Regions from separate parts of the Homo sapiens genome. Here regions 1, 2, 4, 5, 6 and 7 are each linked to region 3. The links are contacts of gene promoters, found by promoter capture Hi-C in blood cells and fetal thymus (Javierre and others, 2016). All regions are on one chromosome and are shown on one strand. Each heading gives the region's core, a stretch centred on a gene start or on the middle of the fragment in contact. The rest is flanking DNA. Distances are from core to core; before and after follow the strand shown. Region 1 overlaps ZMIZ1 (zinc finger MIZ-type containing 1). Region 2 overlaps ZMIZ1 (zinc finger MIZ-type containing 1). Region 3 holds the start of POLR3A (RNA polymerase III subunit A). Region 4 overlaps ZMIZ1 (zinc finger MIZ-type containing 1). Region 5 overlaps ZMIZ1 (zinc finger MIZ-type containing 1). Region 6 overlaps ZMIZ1 (zinc finger MIZ-type containing 1). Region 7 overlaps ZMIZ1 (zinc finger MIZ-type containing 1).

Evidence for each region. The method cuts DNA at HindIII sites, captures the fragments that hold promoters and counts their contacts. A CHiCAGO score of 5 or more calls a contact.
Region 1: a fragment that was not itself captured here is called in contact with the fragment with the promoter of POLR3A in region 3 in 6 of 17 cell types (total B cells, activated CD4 T cells, total CD4 T cells and 3 more); the score reaches 11.6 in total B cells.
Region 2: a contact is called between a fragment that was not itself captured here and the fragment with the promoter of POLR3A in region 3, in 4 of 17 cell types (naive CD8 T cells, activated CD4 T cells, total CD4 T cells and 1 more). The highest score is 6.7, in naive CD8 T cells.
Region 4: a contact is called between a fragment that was not itself captured here and the fragment with the promoter of POLR3A in region 3, in 13 of 17 cell types (total CD4 T cells, naive CD8 T cells, naive CD4 T cells and 10 more). The highest score is 46.6, in total CD4 T cells.
Region 5: a fragment that was not itself captured here is called in contact with the fragment with the promoter of POLR3A in region 3 in 4 of 17 cell types (total CD8 T cells, naive CD4 T cells, naive CD8 T cells and 1 more); the score reaches 6.9 in total CD8 T cells.
Region 6: a fragment that was not itself captured here is called in contact with the fragment with the promoter of POLR3A in region 3 in 1 of 17 cell types (total B cells); the score reaches 7.9 in total B cells.
Region 7: a contact is called between a fragment that was not itself captured here and the fragment with the promoter of POLR3A in region 3, in 12 of 17 cell types (naive CD8 T cells, activated CD4 T cells, total B cells and 9 more). The highest score is 13.9, in naive CD8 T cells.

Annotation. Positions count from the first base shown.
Region 1 is chr10:79,232,226-79,235,331 of GRCh38, reverse strand. The region is part of intron 7 of ZMIZ1 (zinc finger MIZ-type containing 1); the gene reads right to left. Among named protein-coding and RNA genes, the nearest start is that of PPIF, 110 kb to the left of the region's middle. The HindIII fragment of the contact is 5,014 bases long and covers 1-3,106 here.
Region 2 is chr10:79,306,615-79,309,672 of GRCh38, reverse strand. It overlaps ZMIZ1 (zinc finger MIZ-type containing 1), which reads right to left. Exons shown (of 25, transcript NM_020338.4): 23 at 2,102-2,268. Among named protein-coding and RNA genes, the nearest start is that of PPIF, 39 kb to the left of the region's middle. The HindIII fragment of the contact is 1,086 bases long and covers 794-1,879 here.
Region 3 is chr10:78,027,506-78,030,962 of GRCh38, reverse strand. POLR3A (RNA polymerase III subunit A) reads left to right here and starts at 1,448. Exons shown (of 31, transcript NM_007055.4): 1 at 1,448-1,599. The coding sequence starts at 1,556. RefSeq lists an enhancer at 1,279-1,528. The HindIII fragment of the contact is 13,008 bases long and covers 1-3,457 here.
Region 4 is chr10:79,191,892-79,195,161 of GRCh38, reverse strand. All of the region lies in intron 4 of ZMIZ1 (zinc finger MIZ-type containing 1), which reads right to left. Among named protein-coding and RNA genes, the nearest start is that of ZMIZ1, 120 kb to the right of the region's middle. The HindIII fragment of the contact is 2,386 bases long and covers 275-2,660 here.
Region 5 is chr10:79,168,174-79,171,486 of GRCh38, reverse strand. The region is part of intron 4 of ZMIZ1 (zinc finger MIZ-type containing 1); the gene reads right to left. Among named protein-coding and RNA genes, the nearest start is that of ZMIZ1, 100 kb to the right of the region's middle. RefSeq lists an enhancer at 1-459. The HindIII fragment of the contact is 2,154 bases long and covers 403-2,556 here.
Region 6 is chr10:79,248,846-79,252,042 of GRCh38, reverse strand. The region is part of intron 7 of ZMIZ1 (zinc finger MIZ-type containing 1); the gene reads right to left. Among named protein-coding and RNA genes, the nearest start is that of PPIF, 97 kb to the left of the region's middle. RefSeq lists enhancers at 1,372-1,451, 2,862-2,911, 2,161-3,074, 3,075-3,197 and a cis regulatory region at 3,196-3,197. The HindIII fragment of the contact is 1,984 bases long and covers 860-2,843 here.
Region 7 is chr10:79,211,781-79,215,090 of GRCh38, reverse strand. The region is part of intron 6 of ZMIZ1 (zinc finger MIZ-type containing 1); the gene reads right to left. Among named protein-coding and RNA genes, the nearest start is that of PPIF, 130 kb to the left of the region's middle. The HindIII fragment of the contact is 8,674 bases long and covers 1-3,310 here.

The DNA of each region.
Region 1 (3,106 bases), core at 342-2,841, 1.2 Mb before region 3:
GTCCTTCATCACCCGGTGCAGCCTTCCTGCCTTCCTTTCACCACCCCGTGTGAGAGGAGGTTCTCCGGGTGCCTGCTCCCTTCCAGCCCCTTGTTCCTGGTCCATGGCAGATGAGGGGAGCCAGCGGCTTCCTTCATTCCCCAGTGTGGTCCCAGGTGTCCCCCACCTCCAGGGGCTCTGGACATGAGCTGACAGGCTGCACAGGAATGTCTGGGAGAAATCCAAAGGTGGCCGCCAGGGCAGGGCAAGGAGTGGGAGGCCTGATGTTGAAATCAGGGCCTGCAGAGCTGAGCTCACAGAACTGCGTGCTCTTTGGCCCAGGAGGCCAAGTCCCCAACTGAGACAGATGCTACCTGGAAAGGGGCTTGGGAGCTTGCTGTGTGACCAGGTGCAGGTCACTGTCCCTCTCTGGACCCTAATCCCCTCTCCCCCAGTGAAGACATCTAGTGTAGATGCCATACCTCTCTTTGCTGCCGGGGGCACTGGCCTCCCCAAGTCTGGCTGGGTAGGCTCCAAGAAGAAATGTCATTATTGAACTGACTCCTGCTAATTCCCTGTAAAGGCCGGAGTAGGCTGACAGGTGGGCCAGGCAAGAGGTCTACAACACACATCATTTTGTCAAGGCAAAGACGCTGGTTCCAAGGTGGCAGGCCCTCTATGGTTCCATTCTCCTATATTTATTTGTGGTTTATCTGTTAAGTATGTTTATCTATTAAGTATGTTAAATGTTTCCTGCATGACTAATGGATATTCACCAAGTTATTCCACAGTGGTGGGATGTCAGCTTTACTTTCTTATAATTTTCTGTATTCCTTGATTGTCCTACACATAGTATGTATTATCTTTGGACTTACAAGAAAAATTCCATAAAACCACTTTCATTTCAGAATGAAATCCAAAGTTAAGACCTTTTCCCTGGGAAAGGTGCTGTGTACCATCCATCCTCAGAACTGGTAAGTCAAGAGTCAAGCATAAAACAGCCATGTCACCACCTGAGCTTCCGAGGCCCAGGGAAGGGCGTGGGCACGAGGCATTGCTGGGGAGTCACCTCTGCTTCTCTCCCTCCACACACGGCACACTTCCACCCCAGCAGACTGGTGTCCTGGCATCCTGGCAACTGCACCAGCCTCCAAACTATGTTCTCTGCCTCTAGCACCCAAGTCCCTCCTCTACCTGCTGAGGCAAATCTGACCATGTCATCCCTTGTCTAAAACGTTCTTTCGCTCCCCAGGGGTGTCAAGATCAAGTTCAAGCTCCTTAGATTGGCATTCAAGGACTCAGATGATGTGGTCCCTAGAAGTGTCATGCCTGGTCTCCAGGAGGGCCATCTTGCTGCCCTCAGCCTGGGTTGCTCTCGCCTGACTCCCCCGGCAAGACCCTTAAAGACATATATACACTCTGGTTTGCCCAACTTCACTAGAGCCCCTGCTCTCCCAAAAGATCCATATGCCGATCAAAGTGTTGGGCAGCAGCTGGGTGCCAGCCTGCAGCTAGGAGGGGAAACTGCTGCAAATCCAGGGGTGGCAGAGGGAAGCTGAGGCCCCCCCACCCTCCCTACCAATCTTTGGGCTTTTCCAGAGGATGAGGAGCCAGGCCCCTGCTGATGAATTTGAAAGGGAAGGTGAGCTGTGGGCCAGCAGTCTGGGGTGACGCTCTCCAGGAGGGGAAAAAAATCAGGCATGGTGATCTCAGCCCTGTGGATGCTACGGTTTGGGGTTGCTGTGGTCTGAGTGTTTGTGCCTCTCTAAGTTAACGTGTTGAAATCTAATCCATTGAGATGGTACGAAGAGCTGGGGCCTTTGGGAGAGGATTAGGTCATCAGGAATACACCTTCATGAATGGGACCAGTGCCTTATGAAAGAGGCTTGAGGGCGCTCTTTGCACCCATGTGAGGACACAGCCAGAAGGTGCCATCTACGGGGAGCGTGCCCTCACTGGACATCAAATCTGCCAGAGCCTGATCTTGCCTCTGCAACAGGGAGTGATCAATTGCTATTGTTTGTAAGTTACCTAGTCAAAGGTATTTTGCTATAACAGCCTGAACAGACTAAGGCAGGGGCCAAGCAATGCTGCCTGTTCCCTGCCTCAGTCTCCCCAGCTGCGATGCAGGATGCAGGCAGTATTCTGAGAGGCACAGTGGGAAGGCCCAGCCCTGGGAACCAAGCCAGTGCTTCTGCTGCTCCCCCTCAACAAGGGGAGCCCACACCCCCCTTGGGCCCCAGACAAACCTGGGAGTGTGGTGTGTAATTGAATTTGGCCTAATTACCTAATTGCACTGAGGAACAACCAGTACTGACAGAGGCCTTGGTGTCGGGGGCGTGGCTGGAAGCCAGGAGCCAAGAGGGAGCCTCCAGATTCCCCAGGCATTCATGGAACCAGTACTGGGCATCAGTACTTCCTATCACTTAGCCCCTTGGATGCTTGGAACCCCAGGGGGCAGGTGGTGCTGTTCCCATTCCACAGATGAGGAAATGGAGGCTCAAAGTGGCACATCTTGCACAGGGACACCAAGTCAGAAGAAGCAGGAGGGGGTTTAGCTCACATTCCTTCCGCACCTGCACCTTAATATTTTCGTAAAGCTGAAAGGAGAGGATGTGCATGCAGTATTTTGCCTAGCATCTAAAACATGGTAACTCCTTAACTGATTGGCAGTAGTAGTAGGATGATGTTAGGGTTTCACATAAAGGTATGGTGGCAATAATAGCAGGAGTAATGCCAGCCTCGCCCCTGGTACGATGAGGGATGCTGGGAAGATTGCATCCCCCACCCTGTGTCAGTCTCTTCTCAGATTAAACTGGGGCTTGGGCTAGGTGATCCTCAAAGCCCTCTACACTCTGACATTCATGTCAGAGAGGAACAGTAACGATAATGTAACCCTACCACCAATACTTATTATGTATACCTATGAATTATTATGTATCTTGTGACCTCCAAAAATACACCGTCCTCCTGCTTCCCCTTTGCTGTCCAACACACAGTATCCTCCTTCCCATACCAGCCATCTTCCTCCCATAAGTGATTTTTTGAGGGGTGCAGGGGTACCACCCACTCACCTATTCTGTCTCAGTCATTGGGATGTAGCAAATAAGACACTGAGTTTTCACTA
Region 2 (3,058 bases), core at 87-2,586, 1.3 Mb before region 3:
GTTTCTCCTAAAACTGTTTCCCAGGCCTTGCTATGGGTCGGGCTCTGCCCACGGTCCAGGTGTCCCCTTCTCAGGGTGTAGGGCCCCAACCCCATGCGGCCTTAGGGAGCACAGTGCCCTTCCAGTCCAAGCCCCAAGAATGAGACGACCTCGCAACGGTGCTGCTGGAGACCTTGGGAGACCCGTTTATGAGACACATACAAGAGGCTGGAGGAATGGGCCACCACCCATGGTCAGTGAGAGGCCAGCTTAGGGCTCCCACTCCTGTAGATGCCCTCAGTGCCCACCCTGGGAGAGCAGGGAGGGGCTCCACACTCCAGCTGTGCAGCCCAGCTCAAGACAGACAGTCCCTGGATCTTCAGAGGCAGCTGTGCCCCTCAGCTTCGTATCTGGCTGGAATGTCTCCGGCATGGAGGGGCAGGTGCTGTTGGAGCACTGCTGACACACCTGTCAACCCGCCACCAAGTATGGGCAGTCTGTGGGGGCAGCAGCATCTGGATAGAGCGCTCTGGCCAGTCTCTGCGGGCATGGCAGTGCCTCCCAGCCTTGGGCTCAGCTGGGGGTGTGGCTGCCTCCACCTGGGCAGGTGTGGTAGAAGTTTACCTGTGACTGCCCTGCCCCACCGGCCTGGCACATCCGCACTTCCAGGTCTGCTTGCCCTCTAGTGAGAGCTCAGAAATGGAGGACAGGACCATCTAGAGAGCATCTTAAGGGGCTCTGAGGTCAACTCACAGGCTCAGATCAAGCCACACAGAATGCAGGCAGCGGGGCTCACAGAAGGCAGGAGAAAGCTTGATTGTCAAGGGGAAATAGACGGCATCAGCACTCCATATTCCAGTGTTAGGAACTGTGAGGGCGCAGGATGTGTGTGTGTCGGGGGGTGTGATTTTGGTGTCTTCTGGGTGTGGGATGCCCTCAGGGCCCAGGAAGGGGCATCAGGAAAGAAGCCCCCAGAAATCACAAGCCCCATGGGGCAGAGAGTAACTTTGAAAAACTTGGCCAAAGCTCCACAAAGCATCTATTTCCGACTTGGACTCCTGGGGTCCTGAGGGAAAGTTGCTGCTACCTCACCTAGAGTCCTGAGGCAATTCCATGTCAGGTGTGTGGAAGGCAGTATAATCCAGAGGCTCCTTCCTGTGCAGGCCACCCAAGCCCACTGCCAGACTCTGGCAGGACCCCGGGCCCTCTCCCTGGCTGGTGTGGCCCAGGACCCCCAGCCACGTGCTCAGTGATGGCCCCTCCTCCCCAAGATGAGAGCCCAGAATGACTGAGACCTCAGACACACCACTTCAGCCTCCGGAGGCTTCAGTTTCTCCAAACTCCAACTGTTCTTCCTGCACCCACGCACTGCCAGGAGTTTTACTCCATTAGCCCAAGGCCTGTCTGTCTTGCTTACACCTGTCACATGGCCTGCGCAGAGCACAGCTCAAAAAACGCTTGTTAAAATGAGTGGAACCACGTGGCACTCACTGGATGAGGACTCCAGGGGACAGGAGGGCCTCCTGCCACTGCCACTGGGGCCACAGGAAGGGAGGGCCTGTGGACAACACAGGACACCTTACCCCACCAGGGACGTCCTCAGCCACACAGGGCATATGTCGATAAGTGTGAAACAGAATGAGAAGTGAATGCTCTTCAGATAATCAGACTTCCTAGCATTTCTTTTGTTGGAGGTGGTAATACCCTGAATTCAGATCCTTGGAGAATAAGTGCCTGGGTTTGGGACAAAAGTTGAGGTGGCTGGAACCGTGTTAGGTGAGTGTAAGATTGTGCAAGTGGGAGAGGGAGAGGGCTGATGGCGTGTGCTGGGTAGTGGCGAGTGCATGCACGTGTGTGTGTATGCATGGGGTGGTGAGGGTTTGGGGAAGAGCCTGAAGCTTCCCCCATCTCCAGAGAATCCGAAATCCTAGGTAAAACAGCCAAGTCTAAGGACACTGACAGGGCACGACGTAGCCTCAGTTAGACCCCTCCTATTCCATTCTGAGCCCACACACCCAATTCTTCATCCTCTGCCTTGCCTGGGAGGGAACAGGGTATCCAGATCCCAAGGCATCAACCCCAAAGGCTGGGGAATGGAATGGGGTGAGGAGGAGGTACTCACAGTTTCCTGCATGGGGTGGCTGAGGGGTTTCTCGAGGGCGGCCATGTTGTTGGGCATGTCCGGGGGGTGGGAGAGCTGGGGGGGCCCGTGCATGAAGTCATTCATGGATGTCCCTCCAGGGTTCCCGTGGGGGAAGTCAAAGTTGCCATGGCCTTGGTAGTTGTTGCCTAGGAAGGGATGAGATGGGGAGGGGAGGGGGTCACCCAGAGGGATAGTGGCCACCCCCAGGGAACAGAGAGTGTGTAAAAATACAAGCCAAGTCCTTTTCCTCTTGCGAGGCTGTAGTAGGTCACAGCAGCCCGAGGCTTCCGGGCTGTAGGATAGAGCAGCCACTCAGCCCTGTCCCGTGGTCTGTGGTACCCTAGGGGATGTGCTGCCCCTACTGCTATGGAGGAGGGGGCAGAGTGGGACAAAGGGGGCGGGCCAGGCTCCTGTGGGGAGTGGGGGACATGGCCTGAGCCTAGAGCAGACCTGCTGAGCTACTCCCCAATGTGGGCACTTTTCATACCCAGCAAGACCCAGGCCCAGAGTGGGTGCATGTTCTGCCAAGCCCACAAAGAAAGCTGCAGCAGACTCAGGATGACACCCGCAGAAGCCAGCTGTTCCGCCTCCCTGGTCACTGTGCCCTCCACCATGTGGCGATGGCAAGGGTCAGAGGATCAGCAGACTGGGAGGCTTGGCCCTTGGCACACTGTGGGAGTTCGGCTAGGTGGCCTAACCTCACTGGGCCTCTCATGGGGACCTAAGATCACGGATCCCAGGGGGAGCTGCCACCCAGTGGGGGTACTTTCCAGGAATCAGTGGCAGTAGGAGTAAAACTTGGTCTGGGCAGCCGGGAGCGTAAGGGCCAGTGGGTGACCTTGGTGGCCAAAGGCTGAGGCTCTAGGAACCTGGACTCTGTCCCTAGGAGGGCAGGAAAGTTGCAGGGGAAATGTAGATATCACAGAAAAAATACAG
Region 3 (3,457 bases), core at 199-2,698:
AGGATTACAGGCGTGAGCCACCACGCCTGGCTGCCTACACAACTTTAAATGGTGAAAGCTAGACTCCCATGATGGCACTGTGATTTCATAACTTTTGCTCTTAACCTCTAGATAAGTCACACACGATCCAACCCTTGTTGGTATAATATTGTAAACATCAGAGCCGGGTGTGGTGGCTCACACCTGTAATCCTATCACTTTGGGAGACTGAGGCGGGCGGATCACGAGGTCAGGGATTCGAGACCAGCCTGGCCAACATAGTAAAACCCCGTCTCTACTAAAAATACAAAAATTAGCTGGGCGTGGTGGCGGGCGCTTGTAGTCCCAGCTACTCGGGAGGCTGAGCCAGGAGAATCGCTTGAACCCGGGAGGCGGAGGTTGCGGTGAGCCGAGATTTCGCCACTGCACTCCAGTCTAGGCGACAGAGCGAGACTCCGTCTCAAAAAAAAAAAAAAAAAAAAAACAAAAAAAACCCATAATGTTGACTATATATATATATATATATATATATATATAGTCAACATTATTTCATGATTAAGTGATGGAGTACCGAAATGAGTTAGAAAAACCTGATATGCCTCGTTTGTCTGTGACATTGTGTTTTGCTAGTGAGGATCCATGGCGTCTGAAAATGAGATAGCGTCCCTTCTTAAAAATTGAAAGTTGTTAAACACTTTTGTTAAGTTCTGTTTTGAGTTTCTCACAAATAATGAGGACTTAGTTCTAATTCTAAGCGCTAAGCCCTGTGGTGATGTGATTTCCTTGCTAGGCTCATGCACTAATATATCACACTAGGATCACCTCCCACAAGTTCTCACAGACTGTAGACAACTTATTTCAAGACATGAATGATCTTTACTTTCCATTCTCCCTTTTCTTCTGTAGATTACCATGGCTGTTTTCACTCTAACAGATTTTCAACTGTTTTTGTAATCAATAATGTAAGTTTAATTCTTCCCCCCTCCCTCCAAATAACTTCATGAACTGGAGGCACATGTGCGCCCATATTTTCCGCTCTGTTTTCCTTTGTTGGTCCTCCACAGATAGTGCCCTCTGTTGGATGGGCCGGTTCATTTTAGCTTCCACCTTCCCTTAAAACAATTAGAAGCTCTTAATTTAGATGGTACTGATGTTAATGATGATGATTTTCCATTTTATGCAAGTTTTGGCCCTCTGCTTGTCTAAAAGCCTTGAGGCAAAGAGTTATATGCAGTTTCTCTGCGGGTGTCTGATTACGTGGAGAAATTGACCAGAAATGGGATTTTTAAAATACAGCACACGCCTCGGTGCGGCTTCCAGTAAGCGCCACCAGGTGACGGTGCGGGGAAAGGGAAAAAAAAAAAAAAAAAAGGCATGCCGGAAGTCTCTCTTGACAGACAGACGCGCGGGCGAGTAGCGGAAGAGGAAGCGGACACGTGGGACACTCTACGGTGGCCGAGAGGATGCCGCAGATGTGTTAGCGGCGAGTCCAGAAGCAGCCCCAGGAGGTGCTGGGGGCATCGTTTCTCTAATCTGGCCTCCCGAGTGCCAAGGAGGCGTCCCGGCAGCGGTCATCATGGTGAAGGAGCAGTTCCGGGAGACGGATGTGGCCAAGAAAATGTAAGACGGAGTAAGAGTGGCCAAAGGGCTGAGAAATAGGGCAAGGGGTCCGAGGTCAGCGGTCCCGGGTCTTGCAGGGTCAGAGATGGGGTGCAATGGGAAGGGGAGGGCCAGTAGTCCATAGGTGTGACCAGCGCCCAGAACTACCAGCGTTGGTCAAAGAGCATTGGTCAGGCTGAGGGGATTTCAGCACCTCGAGAGGTCCCTGGACTTGGGCGGAGAAGTCGGAGTGGCCTGAGCCTTAATGATTTGTGCACCCTGGGCCAAAGCTCGCATTCTCCTGAAGTCATACAATGATCCCTGTTCTTCAGCGAACTATCCCCTGCTGCAGCGAGGGGAGCAATCTGGGGCGGGGACTGTCTCTAATTCTGTCAGCCGCAGAGCGTCTGACACGGAGGCAGTAGTTGCTTACCAAAAGGATGGGGTTGCCCACTAGAAAGCTGTACCACAGGCCGACGGATGGCAGTGTCAGAAATAAAGCTGCTATCCGGACTTTTGCCTTCAGAAATACGTTATTAGGCGGTGGCTCCTTCTTAGAGTTCTCGGTAAGAAAGTGAATCCAGCCGGGCGCGGTGGCTTACTCCTGTAATCCCAGCACTTTAGGAGGCCGAAGCGGGTGAATCTCCTGAGCTCAGGAGTTTGAGACTAGCCTGGGCAACGTGGCGAAACCCCGTCTCTATCAAAAATACAAAAATTAGCAGGCGTGGTGGCGCGCCCTTGTGGTCCCAGCTACTCGGGAGGCTGAGGCCGAAAAATCACTTGAGCCTGGGAGGCAGAGGTTGCAGTGGGCAACCTCCTGCATTCCACCCTGAGTGACAGAGTGAGACGGTGTCTCAAAAAAAAAAGTGAATTCATCATTCTTACAGCAGACACTGAGGAGGATACTGCGCGTTATTCCCAGTGTTGGACGTTAAAGATACGGTCTGAATAAAACTTTTACTGCCTAATCTAGTTGGAGAAGGTACACAAGTCAACACTGGGTACGACAAGTGCAATGACAAGGGTAGGTCCAGGGGGTTTTGAGAGCACATAATGGGTCCAGGCAAAAGAAAGCAGACCAAACTGCTTTTTTCAAGGAGCAGACCTGAGGGAGAGAACACAGGTGATCAGAAGGAAGCAGAAGACTTGAAGCTGTGTTAAGAAGTCATCTTGTAGGCAGTGAGGAACCTTTGAAGGATTTTCAACAGGAGAGTATCTTGATAAGAGTTCTCCTTCTGGAAAATCTCTTGATTCATGGTGGAAAGAATTAGAGGTCGAGAGACCTTGAGACGGATATACAGAATGCCTTGCTTGGGCAGCTGTGTGGATGGTTGCCATTCACTAGAACAGGTGTCTTACCTAGGTGAATGCAGCATTCTCCCATGTGGTAGCTCTACATCGACACTGGCCCTTCACACCCACCTGTACACCTGCGCCCAGTCAGATATAATACATTCTCACAAAACAGAGAAAGTGCTTCTGTCAAAGTGCAAATTAAGGGTATTGTCAATTAAAATCCTCTAGCAGAGGCCAGGAGTGGTGGCTCACGTCTGTAATCCCAGCACTTTGGGAGGCCATGGCAGGCAGATCATGAGGTCAGAAGTTCAAGACCAGACTGGCCAATATGGTAAAACCTCATCTCTACTAAAAATACAAAAATTAGCTGGGTGCGGTGGCGCATGCCTGTATGCCTGTAACCCCAGCTACTTGGGAGTCTGAGGCAGGAGAATCGCTTGAACCCAGGAGGCAGAGGTTGCAGTGAGCTGAGATCGCACCACTGCACTCCAGCCTGGGTGACAGAGCAAGACTCTGTCTCAGGGAAAAAAAAAAATCCTCTAGCAGCTTTCCATTGTGTGGGCCATCACGCCTAGCAAATTTT
Region 4 (3,270 bases), core at 218-2,717, 1.2 Mb before region 3:
GAAAACACCATCCCCACAAGAGGAGAATGCCTGCTTTTGAAGCTGCAAAGCCTGTCCCAAGGCAGGTCCATGGGGAGGCTGAAGGCCCGGCAGCCCCGGGAGCTGTTCTTCCAGGGCAGCCCAAGGCCAAGACGCTGCCCCTTTCACAGCTCTGTGCTTCTTCTTGCACCTTACGCTTGGCTGGGCTTAGTTGGGCAAATGGAAGTTTTTGGATGGTAACATGGGGTCAGCTCGGTCTTCCCAACTCCCGTGGGACGTCTTTCGGGACCAAGCTTCCATTTACACTTCTCACCACCCAGCAGAGCGAGGGTGTCTATGCTTAGCGGCGCCTGGTGCAGAAGACTAGTTCAAGAAAAGTTAGCGGCTATTATGTATAGAGGGCTGCTTGGAGGATAGAACGTTGAGAGCTGAAAAGGCCTGGGAACACCTGCCTCATGCCCTCATGCAGCAGGGTGGGAAGCGGAGGTGGGGAGAGGAAGAGGACACGGAGGGCATCGTGAGCAGAGCTGGGCTGGAGCCCCTCTGACAGGTCCAAATAGAGCCCTGGATATCTCTGGGCTGCCAAGTCAGCAAGGAGAGAAGCATCTCAACGGTCTCAACGGCTGGGGGAGGCAAACAGCCCTCAGGGGGCTCCTCACTGGACACAGGGATGAGGTGCTTCTAGCTGCCCCACAGAAATGTGGAGCTCCACAGGCAGCTAGCTCCCAAGGGTGGCAGCCAACCGAACAGTCAGCTGTCCCAACACAAGTGTTTTATTTCCCACCTTTGAGGCCTCACTAGTTCATCAGTCCACATAATGCACACGCACCCAGAGAGAGGCGTCTGCACAGCACACGTGTGCATAGGCACATACACATGTGACCCCTTGCATACTTCACAGCAGGTATGTGCACATGCTGGATGCCAACACAGATGCACTTGAGCACACACATCTCATGACAGCTTGCACAGGCAAGTGGGGGTCCCCGGGGAGCTGTGTGAGCAGTGGTGTGCAGAAATGATTCAATCACCATGCACATCTGCAGCTTAGGTCCCCTGGGGCAAGCGGTGCCAGTGGCAGGAGTGGGCAGCTCTGCCTACAGCCCGCGAGCAGAGGCTGCGTTCCAAGACACAGCCAGAAGGGAAAGCCTAGGGGTCCAGAGGACATCCCAGACAGCCCCTTCATCAGCCTTAGACTCCCAAAGGGACAAACTTCATGAGCCCTGGGCTCAGCAATGACCTGCCAACCTGCACATGTCAGCATCAGTTGGGATCCTTTTCGGCCTGGCCCCTAGCCCTCACTACTCTCAGTCACATCCCTTGTCCCCAACGTGGGGCTGCTCCCTGCCTCCCGGACTGTGCTCTGAAGATCGCACCTCCATGTCTTTGCCTCTGACTGTCCCTCTGCCCGCAATGCCTGGACACCTCCCATCCATCAGGGTATGGCTCAACTGTCACTCTTTCGTGCTCTTTCTTGGTTTCCATCCCTATCCCCTCCATGTCGCTGTCACACACCCCCATCGTAGCAGCACTAGATGAGGGCTGACTCCTTGCAACTGTCTCTCCATCAGCTGGAATGTCTTCCAGTTACAGATCCCTTAGTCTAGCCCAGGGCTCCGTACTCAGCAGGTACTCATTAGATGGGTGAACAGGCAGGTGGACGCACGCCCATTGCTGGGTGTACATGAGAACCAGGGTGGTGAGAGCTGAAAAACCCATCACCCAGCCATAATCAGAAGATCCTAGGACTCAGAGAGACACTGGTTACCCCGTTGAGGGTTCCCAAAGAGAGATACATGTACTTCTGGTGGGATAACGATGACTTTAGAAGGTCCATGGACAAACCTTTTACATTCTCATAGTGAAGTTTTTGGACTGATGAGTTCATGAATGTTATTATTTAGCATGCAGTTAAATTAGGTAGCAATAGCAGACCTAAGTGAATTAAAGAATTGTTTTAAACATAGTATGAACGGAATGAAAGTGACCAAGGTTAGGCAAGCACTGATGTAGACTGATGACTTCCTCACCTTAAAGGTAATGAGTAGAAGCTCAGAGAGGTGTGGAAGCTGCCTGTGGTCACGTCGCAGGTGGCTCGCGCATTCCCAAACCTCGGTAGCCTGCACCAGGCACACGGGCTGGATGCAGAGGAAGAGGGTGGTGGTGAAGCAAGGACAGTAGGAGAGTGACTTTGTGCCCTACCTCAGGGAAGTCAGAAAGAAGGGCAGAGAGACAGGAGACGAGATGGGGAGAGGGATGGAAGAGGCAGCTCCGGGCAGCTGCACAGGGCCAGCTGCTTCCAGCTCTTAGCAGGACAACTGGAGCAGGCCCTCGGGCCAGCGTGAGTCATTGCACAGGGTGGGGCCCCTGGGTAGGCAGTGGTCCTGAGAGCCAGACCTCCTGGCTATGAGGTTGTGGGAGGGTATTTCACCTTCCTGAGCCTGCATCCTCATCTGTCAAGCAGGAAAGTCCATCTCCTCCCTGCCCCACTGTGTTGAGGAGCTGAGCAAATGAATACTTAGGGGACAGTGTTTTAAAAAGTGAAATTCTGCATTCGGACCACAACTCTTCAGAATTCAGTCCCTCCTTCCTCAACCAGGGCAGTGCTCCTGTGCCAAGACTTGACACGGCTCCACACTGCCCCACCAGAGTTCAGATGCTTTGGCTTGGCACTCAAAGCTTCCGGAAGGGTGGACCCACTTCTCTTCATGATCCAATCTCCCAACACCCATCCTTGTTCACGGGAACACCCATTGTCAATGCTGGCTAGTGGGATAACATAATGTAACCTTGGCATTTCAGAGTGGGGGCTTCATGACAGTCAGCCCCACACAGCTATGCCTAGCAACCTGCCCTGGGACACAGAAGTTAATTCAGAAGTGACAGTTTCCTGGGGAAACACTCAGTGATGTGGCCCTGACAAAGGGGCCAGCCCACTGACCCAACCCACACAGGGCTGGGATCCTAGCTGCATTTGGTGTGCCTTGTCTTTCTGGGCACATGGCACTTTAGAGGAGGCCATGCCCTTGAGGCCAAACCCCCCTGCCATCCTCTGGCCATACTCCAAATCCCTGACCTCACAGTGAACTTTCTCTGACAGCTTCTCTTCCCCAGAGGCAAAGGAGGGTTGGATTCAGCTCTGGAGAAGGCCCCTTGGGCTTTCTCTCATTCCCAAGGAGGCCACACCCCTACACTTTGTTTCCTCAGAGTGGAAAGAGGTACTGAACAACTATCAAACCTATATGTGCTAAACACTAGGTTCTCTATGTCACATCAGTTAAGCCTCAAAAC
Region 5 (3,313 bases), core at 230-2,729, 1.1 Mb before region 3:
GAGAGCAGTGGAGAGGGGCTGACTTGCGCAGAGGCCTGAAGGTGGGTGCTGTACCAGGCACCACATGTGAACTAAGGACCCAGTGGGACTCCCAGCCCAGGAAGGAGACAAAGCTCTGGCCCCCGGCATCCTCTGAGCGACAGCCCAGGCCAGTCCCTAAGTTCTAGGCCCTGGCCTCATCCCCGGTGGAGTGAAGGCCCGGCAGTGAAGAATTCCTTCTCTGGCATTAGCCCAGACCCAGCTGCCTCAAACGAGATCTCATCAGGACAGGGCCAGCTTTTTCACCTCTGCTTATTAACTCCCCTGAGCAGCAGTGAGTGGAAAACGGGAGGGAGCAGGGAGTGTGAGAGCCTTTTCATTTCTGGAGCTCACCGCACTGTGCGTGGATATTTCTGGAAAGCTTCCATGGGGGCTGCCCTGGCTGGGGTGGGAGGACCCATGGGCTGGGAGGGGGTTCTTGATTTAGGCTGACAGTGCGGGTCCAAGAAGGGACCAGTGTTCAGGAGCAGGCAGCCCCTCGGACCTGTCCTGAGATGGCACTCTCTTTTCCTAGGGGCTCAGCAGCTTAAGTTGAGGGCTTAAGCCTGGCGGGGCTGCCCATCCTAGATGGACCACACAACGAGAGGCATGGTGGGCCGCATGGGTTGGCCCAGAGACCAGATTGTGAGCCACGTGGAGCTCCCAGAGCTCACATCCTCCTAGCCAGCACGTTCCACTTTGGGCCTCAGTCTCCTCATCTGTAACAAGACAGGGAGGGCTCTGCGGGGTCATTCTGCAGTTCCAATGCTGCAGGCTTTCATGTGTATTAACTATTAAGGCTCCCAGATGCCTCAGAGGAGCTGCAGGACTGCCCCCACCCACTCTGGCCTCCGCCCTACCTCCCAGTAGGTACCAGTTAGTGATCCAGCTCAGCTTACAGAAAAGATCTCAGATCTGAGTGGACTCCGCTAATGCCTGCAGAGTTAGGGCCTCCTGGAAGGCAAGGGAATGGCCAATAAATGGCATGTGACACCCAGGGAACAGCTTCTCTATCTATCCCTAGGGCTCTGAGGCTGGCAGAAGGCTGCTGAGCCAAATGCTCTGTGGCTAAAAGGAATGGGGCGGAAACCCACAGATCTGCCCCTGGTAGAGGGGACATCAGGGAATGTCTGTCTGATTGTCATGAGGTTTTAAGGGCAGAAAGATCCCTGCCAGGTCATCTAAACCCCTGGTTTATCAGTGTGAAAACTGAGCCACAGAGAGGAACTGGCTTAAGTCTCTAGGCCAGCTCCCCTTTGCAGGCACCAGTGTGTCCCAGATTGGCCAGATCACAGGTATTTTCTGGGGGCATCTGTTTAAAAATTGGAGGCCTAGGCCCAACTCCAGATCTACAGAATCAGACTCCAGGAGAGGGGCCTGGTGATCTGCATTTAAACAGGTGTCCCAGGTGGCCTGGGTGTGCTAGCATGCCTGGGAAGCACTGTGTCTCCATCTCAAAGTATCCTCCTAGAAGTTCCCACTTGAAAGCTCAAGAGAAGACCTGGGGGTCCATTGTCTCTGGAGAGGGAAGTGTCTGGGTCCAGAGCTAACAAATGCCCACCTCAAGCAGATGCTCCTGTTTGAGGGGTGGGAGGTATCTCCCCAAGGGCATCAGTCTGCTGCTAACAGAGAGGACTGGTGCTGTGTAGCTATTGCTGCATTTTATCCTGCCAGGTGGGTGCACTGCACCCCTTTACAGATGAGGAAACAGGTGAGTTGAAGATGAAAGAAACTTGTCCAGACTCACCTGGCTGATAGGTGGAAGAATAGAGATTTGAACCCAGGACTGTCTGTCCCTGAAACCCACACACTTTGACCACACGCCACACTTTATCCTCTATCACACTGAATTTACATGAGCAAAACTGTGTAGTGACTTCTCCAGCAATGGAGGTGTCTGGGCAGCAGCTGGAGGAGTCAATACCAGGGATGAGACGATCTTTATCAGCCCTTCTGGAGCTGTGGCTGTGGACAGGCTAAGCTGGCTACAGGATGCAAGGAAGTCTGTTGCATTTCTTCCATACACAGATAAAAATGCTCCAGATTATTTATAGGTTCTAGTGCATCAAAGTCCTCCTGGCTCAATCCTTGACCACGCTGGAGCTGCCGGGCAGGAGGCAACTGGGAACCCCTACCTGAGAGGGAATTGCTGGGGGCAGAGGCAACGAAGCACAGGGGGCTGGCACCCCAGGTGGTGACAAGGGCAGGGGTCAGGGGTTGTGACGGGAAGTCTGGGTGAGGCCAGGGACCAGAGAAAACTGGCAGGGGCTATTGGCAAGGGCGAGGGCCGTCTCATGCCAGCCTGTCCCACCAACCTGAGGGTGGGCCAGATGGAGGTGGCACCACGGGAGCAATTCACAGAGGTTATGAAGCAGAGATGTTCCCCTAGGCTCCAACAGAGGTCCCTAAAGATGCCTCAGGGGAGCGGTAGACGGTCCCAGAACAGCCGTGAGGCAAGATGTGCTTGCTGTTTCCCAAACTGGAGCTGAAGAAGGGTGAGAAGCACTTAATGGGGGAGGCAGATGTGAGCAAAAAGCTTCCAAAGGCTCAGCAACCATAAATTTCCTGCTCTCCGTTAACCAGTCAGCTCCCTGGGGGCTCTAGAAAGTTTTCTGGGGCCCAGCTCACCCAGCAGCCAGGGTGGACGGACACCTGTGGGGGTCACACTGAGGTCCCTGCCTCTTCTCTCCTCCTGCACTGGCCACAGCCCAGAGCTGAGACATCAGTCAAGCAGACCTGATACCCAGGGAGCAGGGCTGAGAGCGTGACCATGCGCCACACGATGCACAGCATTATTTCTCGTGGAGTCCGCACACAGCCTCCGAATCCTTCTTAATACGGCCCACAAGCACATTAACAACTGGGATGCTAGACATCACCTTGTTGCTATGCCCAGAGGAAGCTGAGGGTGCACAAGCTGGGTGCCTGTCTGTGGCTTTCAGCTGCCCTTCAACACAGAACTGGCCAGGGACTGTGCTGGGGACATGGTTCATAGCCTGCCCTGAGCTTTCAAGGAGTATACAGTCTAGTGGGGAAAGAGCAGATGGCTGGCTTGGAGGAACAGAGACAAAAAAAGGCCATGGGGTGCCTGTGTGCAGATGAAGGAGGGAATGGGCTGGGGAAAGAAAGGGGGGCTGTTGGCTCAGTACACTCAAACTCCGCAGCCCTTGCTGGTGGGAGGAGGTAGGCCCCCGGGGGAGCTCCGCTTTGGGTAGTGGCACCAGCCCTGTCTGCAGTGGACGGAGACGAGCACCTGAACCTTCCATGACTCCCTGCCACACTGCCTGAGCAGAGG
Region 6 (3,197 bases), core at 602-3,101, 1.2 Mb before region 3:
GCCTGAGCTTACAGTGGAAGCCAAGTGCTCGGCCCTTACTCCCTCCCCTGTCCTGATGCTGCTCCTGGGAGACCCATTGCCCGAGTGGCCTCCTAGAAGCCACTAAGGACCCAACGGTCAAGGCTGCCATGGTTCTAGTAAGGTGGGGATAGGGCGTTTCTCTGTTTTGGGTGCTGCTGCCCTGACCCCCTGGGACAATGGCTTCTGTCCGTTTTCCAGGGCATCCCGGGACTGCCCAGTAACTTTCTGAGCCTGTTGCTGGCAAATCAAATGAAGACATACCTGAGAGTTACACAAGCTGTCCCCACTCCCTGCAGGGAAGACACAAGCCTTTGCTCAGCAAACACTGAGTGAGCCCTGAGCTTCTGGCCAAGAGCCCTGGGGCCCTGGCTGGAGGCAGGGGGACTATTTGCTCCAAGATGTCTCAGGCTCTTGGAGAAGATGGGCATTCTGCATGTTCTACCAGTTCGGGGCTCATGCTGGAGAAAAGGTACCCCCAACAGATGTATGGGGTGAGGGGTTGGGGGAGTGTCTGGATAGGCTGGGCTGCAATGGACAATAAAGAGGCCCCAAAGCTGGGGAGCAGGAGGACAAGTGACCCAGAGGAACACGCCTCCCACAAACATGAGGAGAACCACGTAGAGCAGGAAGGGTAGCTCATGTTTGCTCAGGGGCGATGAGATCCCAGCACTGTGCTCAAGGTGCTGGCTGGAATGAGCTCTTTAATCCTCCCACAGCCCTAGGGGATGAGTACTAGTCTCCGGTTCTACAGATGAGGAAACTGAGGCTTAGACAGGGTGAGAGGTCCCGGTGTGTGGAGAAGACAGGAGAGGAGGGGGACAGACGTAGGGAGCAAGCTTGGGAGGGCACCTTTGTGGGGTGAGGGCCTCTCGCTCCTAACAGTGGGGAGCCACAGGAGGGCCATCCCATCCCCACCTGGAAACCCCCAATTCAGTGCAGTGCCCAGTCTTCACCTCCTCGATCTCTACAATGGCCACAAGTCCCCAGCAAGCCCCTCCCCTTTTGGCCCCCCAGCTTCCTGTGCCTTCTCCCTGCGCGTGGTCTGTTCCCCAGGATGGTCTTCCGGCCTTGCGCCTGAAGGCTGTTCTGTCTCCCAGTACCCATCCCGACACCAAGGACACCGTGGGTGCCAGGACCTAGGGTTTGACAAGAAGCCGTGTGTTGGCTCCTGGGACCCTTCCCCAGCTCCCAGAATTTCCTCTCAGCGAGGGGTTCTCCAGGCACCCTTTGGGCACCTGAAAGCCAAGGCTGGACTCACAGTCCTTATTCTGCAAGCCCACTCTCACTAGGATGGCTGGACCCCAAGGGCCACCTCAACATGGCTCGACTCACAGACCCTCTGCCCAGAAATGCAGGGGCTCACAGACCCTGACAAACTATGGGTAGACCTCAAGGAAGAAGTCCTTGTGCAAATCACTGGCGGGCTTCAGAAGTCCAGGGTGCAGACTCTCACCTCTCATTCCCCAAGAGGGAAATGAAAGTGGGCACGTGGGTGCCGGCCACGCTTACTTCCTCCAGAGCTGACACATGCTAGGACCTCCCTGATGGCTGCCGGAGGGACAGCCAGGCAGCTTCTCTCTGGGACAGACAAGTGGCAAGCACACTTGTGCCCCTCTGTCCCCTGACCTTCTCAGGCTCTCCTGTTACAGTGGCCATGCTGGAAGGAGGGATAAGCCCCCAGATGGCACCACCCTCCACAGGGCACAGCAAGGTCTCCAGCTGCAACACAGGGCAAGGACAGGCAGGAGTACTGTACAGATGAGAAAACTGAGGCTCAGACAGAAGGGGGCTGGTGGTGGAGCTGGGTGGAGAGAACCCAGTCTCGGGCTCAGGAACTTGAGGGGAACCTAATGCCCAGCCAGTTTTGGAACTAAGCCCATGCTGCGAGGGGATGAATCCACCTGACAGTGATGAAAGCTGCCAGCTACTGAGACGTTACTATGGGCCAGATACCAACCTAAGCGCCTTTTAGCCCCATCTCATTTACTCCCCACTGCAACCCTGCCAGGCAGGGACAAGTAGCTCTACTGCACTGATCAGGAAACAGAGGCTCAGAGAACCTTGGTGACTTACTCAAAGTCACCTGGTAAATGACAGATGTGGGTTTCATAATTACTGTCTGACACTGGCTTGGGAAGGACACCGGGTGGCCCCATTTTAAGAGCCCCGGGTAGTTGGGCAGGGAGGTCCCTCGTGCATTGGGGGGAAAGGGAGAGGAGCAGTCACCAGAGCTGCCAACAGGGTAGGCCCGCGGGCCACAGAGTGACCACTTCAGGCACAGCACTGCCAACAGATCTTTCTACCATGATGGGAACATTCCACCACTGCACTGTCCAATCTGGTAGCCACTAGCCCGTGAAATGTGACTACTGTGACTGAGGAACTGAAAACTTCATTTAATTTTACTAATGTACATTTAAATACATGTGTGGCTGCTATACTGGACAGCACAGTAAATCCCACGCTGCTCCTTACAAGCAGGGACCTCAAGAAAGGCAGGCACCCCTCACATCACACAGACAAGCTGGGGAGCCAGAGCTGGGCCAAGACCTCGAGCCTTTCAATTCCTGCCTGGGTGACCAGGGCCGCCATGTCCTCATGCTCCGGGCTGGCCATCTGACAGACATTTACGCAGCACCCAGCGTGGATGCAAGTCACGAACCGCCTGTCCTTCAAGTCAGTGTAGTGGGCTGACACCCAGGTGGGCAAGGGATGACAGGAAGCTACTGATGTACAGCGCTGGATCCTGGATGTGCACAGGAGCTAAGGACCGCAAGGAGACAGTGGCCCCGGACGCTGGGTGTGGGGATCCAGGGAAAGCTTCCTGGGCCATGCCATGGCATTAGAGCTGGGCCTGGAAGCAGCAGAAGTGAGAGGCAGGAAAAAGGGCTCCTTGGGCTTCCTTTTTCCTTCCTCTCTGAAACATGCCCCCCATTTTTTCACAGTCCTGGCCTCCCACACACAGGGGTTGAACCAGACCTTGCTAAATCTTCTGCGCACAGTGAAGCTGCCCATCAGATCATAAGCTCTTGGGAGGCAGACAGGGAGCTGGTAAATCACTAGTGCCTCAGGCTCTGACCCAGGGAGCAGGGATTCAACACTGGAGCCCTGGGAGGGTGGGAGACCAACTCTGCAAGCCCAGAGACTACCCGCTGGCACCCATCCACTCCAGTCCC
Region 7 (3,310 bases), core at 106-2,605, 1.2 Mb before region 3:
AGCAATGGTGTGTTTGGAGCCTGAAGGTCCCACCCATCTCCTTAAAATCTCAGAAGTAGGGACTGGCAGGGTGAGAGGCGGCAGACTGGGAGGGCCATCGGTCCCCTGGGGGGCAGTGTGGGACGGGGCGCTCCAGGGGACCCTTGGGTGGCTTTGCAAGCTGTTGCCGCTCTGGCTTCACTCTGTCCCCACCCATTCCCAGGTGTCCCATGACTCCCAGATCTGCTCCCTCACACCCGCCTTCCTCATGAACAGCAGCAAAATTAGCTTTCTTTATTAAGAAGGACCTTGGAAAATGGAGTCATTTAGAAAGCAGCTGGAGTGGCTATGGCTGAGTAGGGAGAGCACCCAGATGTGGTAGGCTGGTACTTCTGAAAAAGGGGGGACTCTGCTGCCAAGCCCCCAGGAACCACCTGCTCCAGAGGCGCCTGGAGGGGCCTCAGACTGCCATGGGGTTTGGCCTGGCCCCTAGATCCAACAGAATCGTTCCCCACGCCTGCCTTAAATCTCAGGAATTTGTGAAAGGGGCTCTGGGGCTAAAAGGGCTGGGAACACCACTTACCTAGGCCAATTTAAAACAACACTGGAGACTCAGAGAAATGTCCCGTGCTAAATCAGGGAGGAGCCAATGGGTTCCCCTTCCCAGGATCACCAGTGACTCTTGGAATGGGACTGTGGCCCTCCCTGCGCCCCTCTGTGTAGGGCTAATGTTTGAGCCAGGTTGGGAGGAAAAAGGATGTTGTTAGGTTAGGATGCTTGCTCAACGTCTCTGCTGCAAACAGAAGCCCCTGGCACAGAAGTCTTCCACACTCCTTAGGCCTCTTTCCCACGGGCTCTGTTTGCCCCTCTACATGTCCCAGTCTCTGGGACATCCTCACCATAAGTCTCACTGTCCACATAGAAAAACCAAGGTCCCTAACTCTTTATGGCCTGTTGAATATTTCAAGTCTGCAGGCAGACTCTCCTCCAGAGAGTGAGGAGGAAGATTCTGGGCTGGAGGGACCACTGCAGCTCATACGTGGACTCTGGTGCCCTCCCTCTTTGTAGAACTTCAGGTGGATGCCTGTGAGCACAGAGCGGCCTGTTTCGACTGGTGCAGTAGTGAGGCTGCTGTCAATGGGAAACACTGATGCTTACAAGTGCTGCAGTGAAAATGCTGGCTCCCACGTACATAGGTGCTTTGTATGCAACAAAGTGCAAATTCTTTCAGCAGCTCCACGAGATAGGTATTATTATTATTATCTCTGATTTACAGATGAGGAAAGAGGTTGAACAACACCTCAAAGCTGGTCAGTGACAGAGACAGGATGTGATCCAGGCAGTCTAGCTGAAAACTCTGGGCTCTTTCTGTGCTAAGACTTCTTTCTCAGTCCACAAAGGGTTAACGCCATAACTTCCAACCTGCACTGAGGACCCTCAGGCCCTGGGTTCAGGGCAGGAAGGCAAAAGTCCCCATGTTTGGCCAATACTGGCTAATCCTGTTGCTCTAGTTAAAAAGGAAAAAATACTAGCTAACTTGAGCTAGAGGGGCTTGGTGCTGTATGGCGGCTCTAAGGGCCAGCCGGGTGGGTGCTGGAGCAGGGAGTCTCTGCTTGTCACCAAGTCCCCTGTGCCCCAGCATTCAGAAGGGTCACTGGCTCCAATAGCCTCCTTTCACTGATGAGGAAGTCAAGGCCCAGAGAGGGCAGGACCGTGCTCAAGGCCACAGAGCACAGGTATGGCAGAGTGAGCTGAATCAAATCCTGTAACCCTAGAGTGCCTCATGCATTCCTATCCCCTGGGTTCCTCTGGCCCAGCCTGAGGACCCCCAGAAAGTTCTGTGAGGCAAGGTCTGACTGACAGTGGTGGGAGCGTGGGCTCAGCTGTGCAGCTTGTTTTTCAGAGAGGCCCATTCTCACCCCAGTGGTCATGATGCTCTCTGTGAAGGTCCTATAGGGTGCAAGGCCCCCTCCCCATAAAGGCCAGTGTGAGTGGCTGGGGCGCTGTGACCCTCTGTTGGCTGTCCAGGTACTGCTGCTTGACCCACGGTGGCGGGGTGGGGGTGGCAGGGGGAAGCACTCCTGAGGCTGCCCTGTCATCCTGGCTGCCAGACACCTAGACCCCTAGAGCCAGGGGACCTCACAGGTCAGGGAACCCAGCCTCACGCCACAGACAGGGAAACTAAAGTCCAGACACAAGACGGAGAACTTGACTGGGTATGGTGGCTCACACCTGTAATCCCAGCACTTTGGGAGGCTGAGGCAGGATAGCTTACACCCAAGAGTTCAAGACCAGCCTGGCAAACATAGCAAGATCTCATCTGTACACAAATTTTTTTTTTCTTTTTTTTTTTTTTGAGACAGAGTCCCGCTCTGTTGCCCAGGCTGCAGTGCAATGGCACGATTTCAGCTCAGTGCAACCTCCGCCTCCTGAGTTCAAGGAATTCTCCTACCTCAGCTACCCGAGTAGCTGGGATTACAGGCGTGTGCCACCACGTCCAGCTAATTTTCTTTTGTACTTTTAGTAGAGACAGGGTTTCACCATGTTGGCTAGGCTGGTCTTTAACTCCTGACCTCAGGTGTGCTTGGGATTATAGGCATGAGCCACCATGCCCAGCCCCATCTGTGCAAAAAATTTTTTAATCTGGTGTGATGGTGTAGGCCAGTGGTACCTAGGTACTTAGGAGGCTGAGGTGGGAGGATCATTTGAACCCAGGAGTTTGAGACCATCCTGGGCAACATAGCAAGGCCCCACCTTTAAGAAAAAAATTAAAAAAAAATTTAAAAATTGGCCTGGCATGGTGGCAGGTGCCTGTAGTCCCAGTTACCCAGGAGGCTGAGGCAGGAGGATCGCTTAAGCCCAGGAGGTCAAGGCTGCAGTGAGCAATGATCGTGCCACTGCATTCCAGCCTGGACGACAGAGCAAGACACTGTCTCTAAAATTTAAAAAAAATTAAAAAAAAAAAGAAGAAGACGGGTGACTTGCTTAAGGTCACGTGGTGAATTACATTAGTCCCACAAAGCAACTGAGTTGTCTTGAAAAGCGTCCAGCCTGCTGGTCACAAAACAGGAGGACAGGCTGTCTAGGGAATGCTGGAGAAGGGGTCTCCATTACTGGCAGGGGGCGGGACCCGAAAAGTCTTTCTGACTCTGACCTCCTCTGAAGCTGCAGGGCGTCCTCATTGGGGAGATGAAGGAGAGGCCTGCTGATGTGAAACCCGGTTCCCTCCTGGACCTGCTCTCCCACTGTCTCCTCTGTCTTCCGCCGTTCCCTAAGCCCACGGGAGGGAGAGGGCGCCCAGAGGGGCTGCTCTGCCCGACTACTGGAGGAG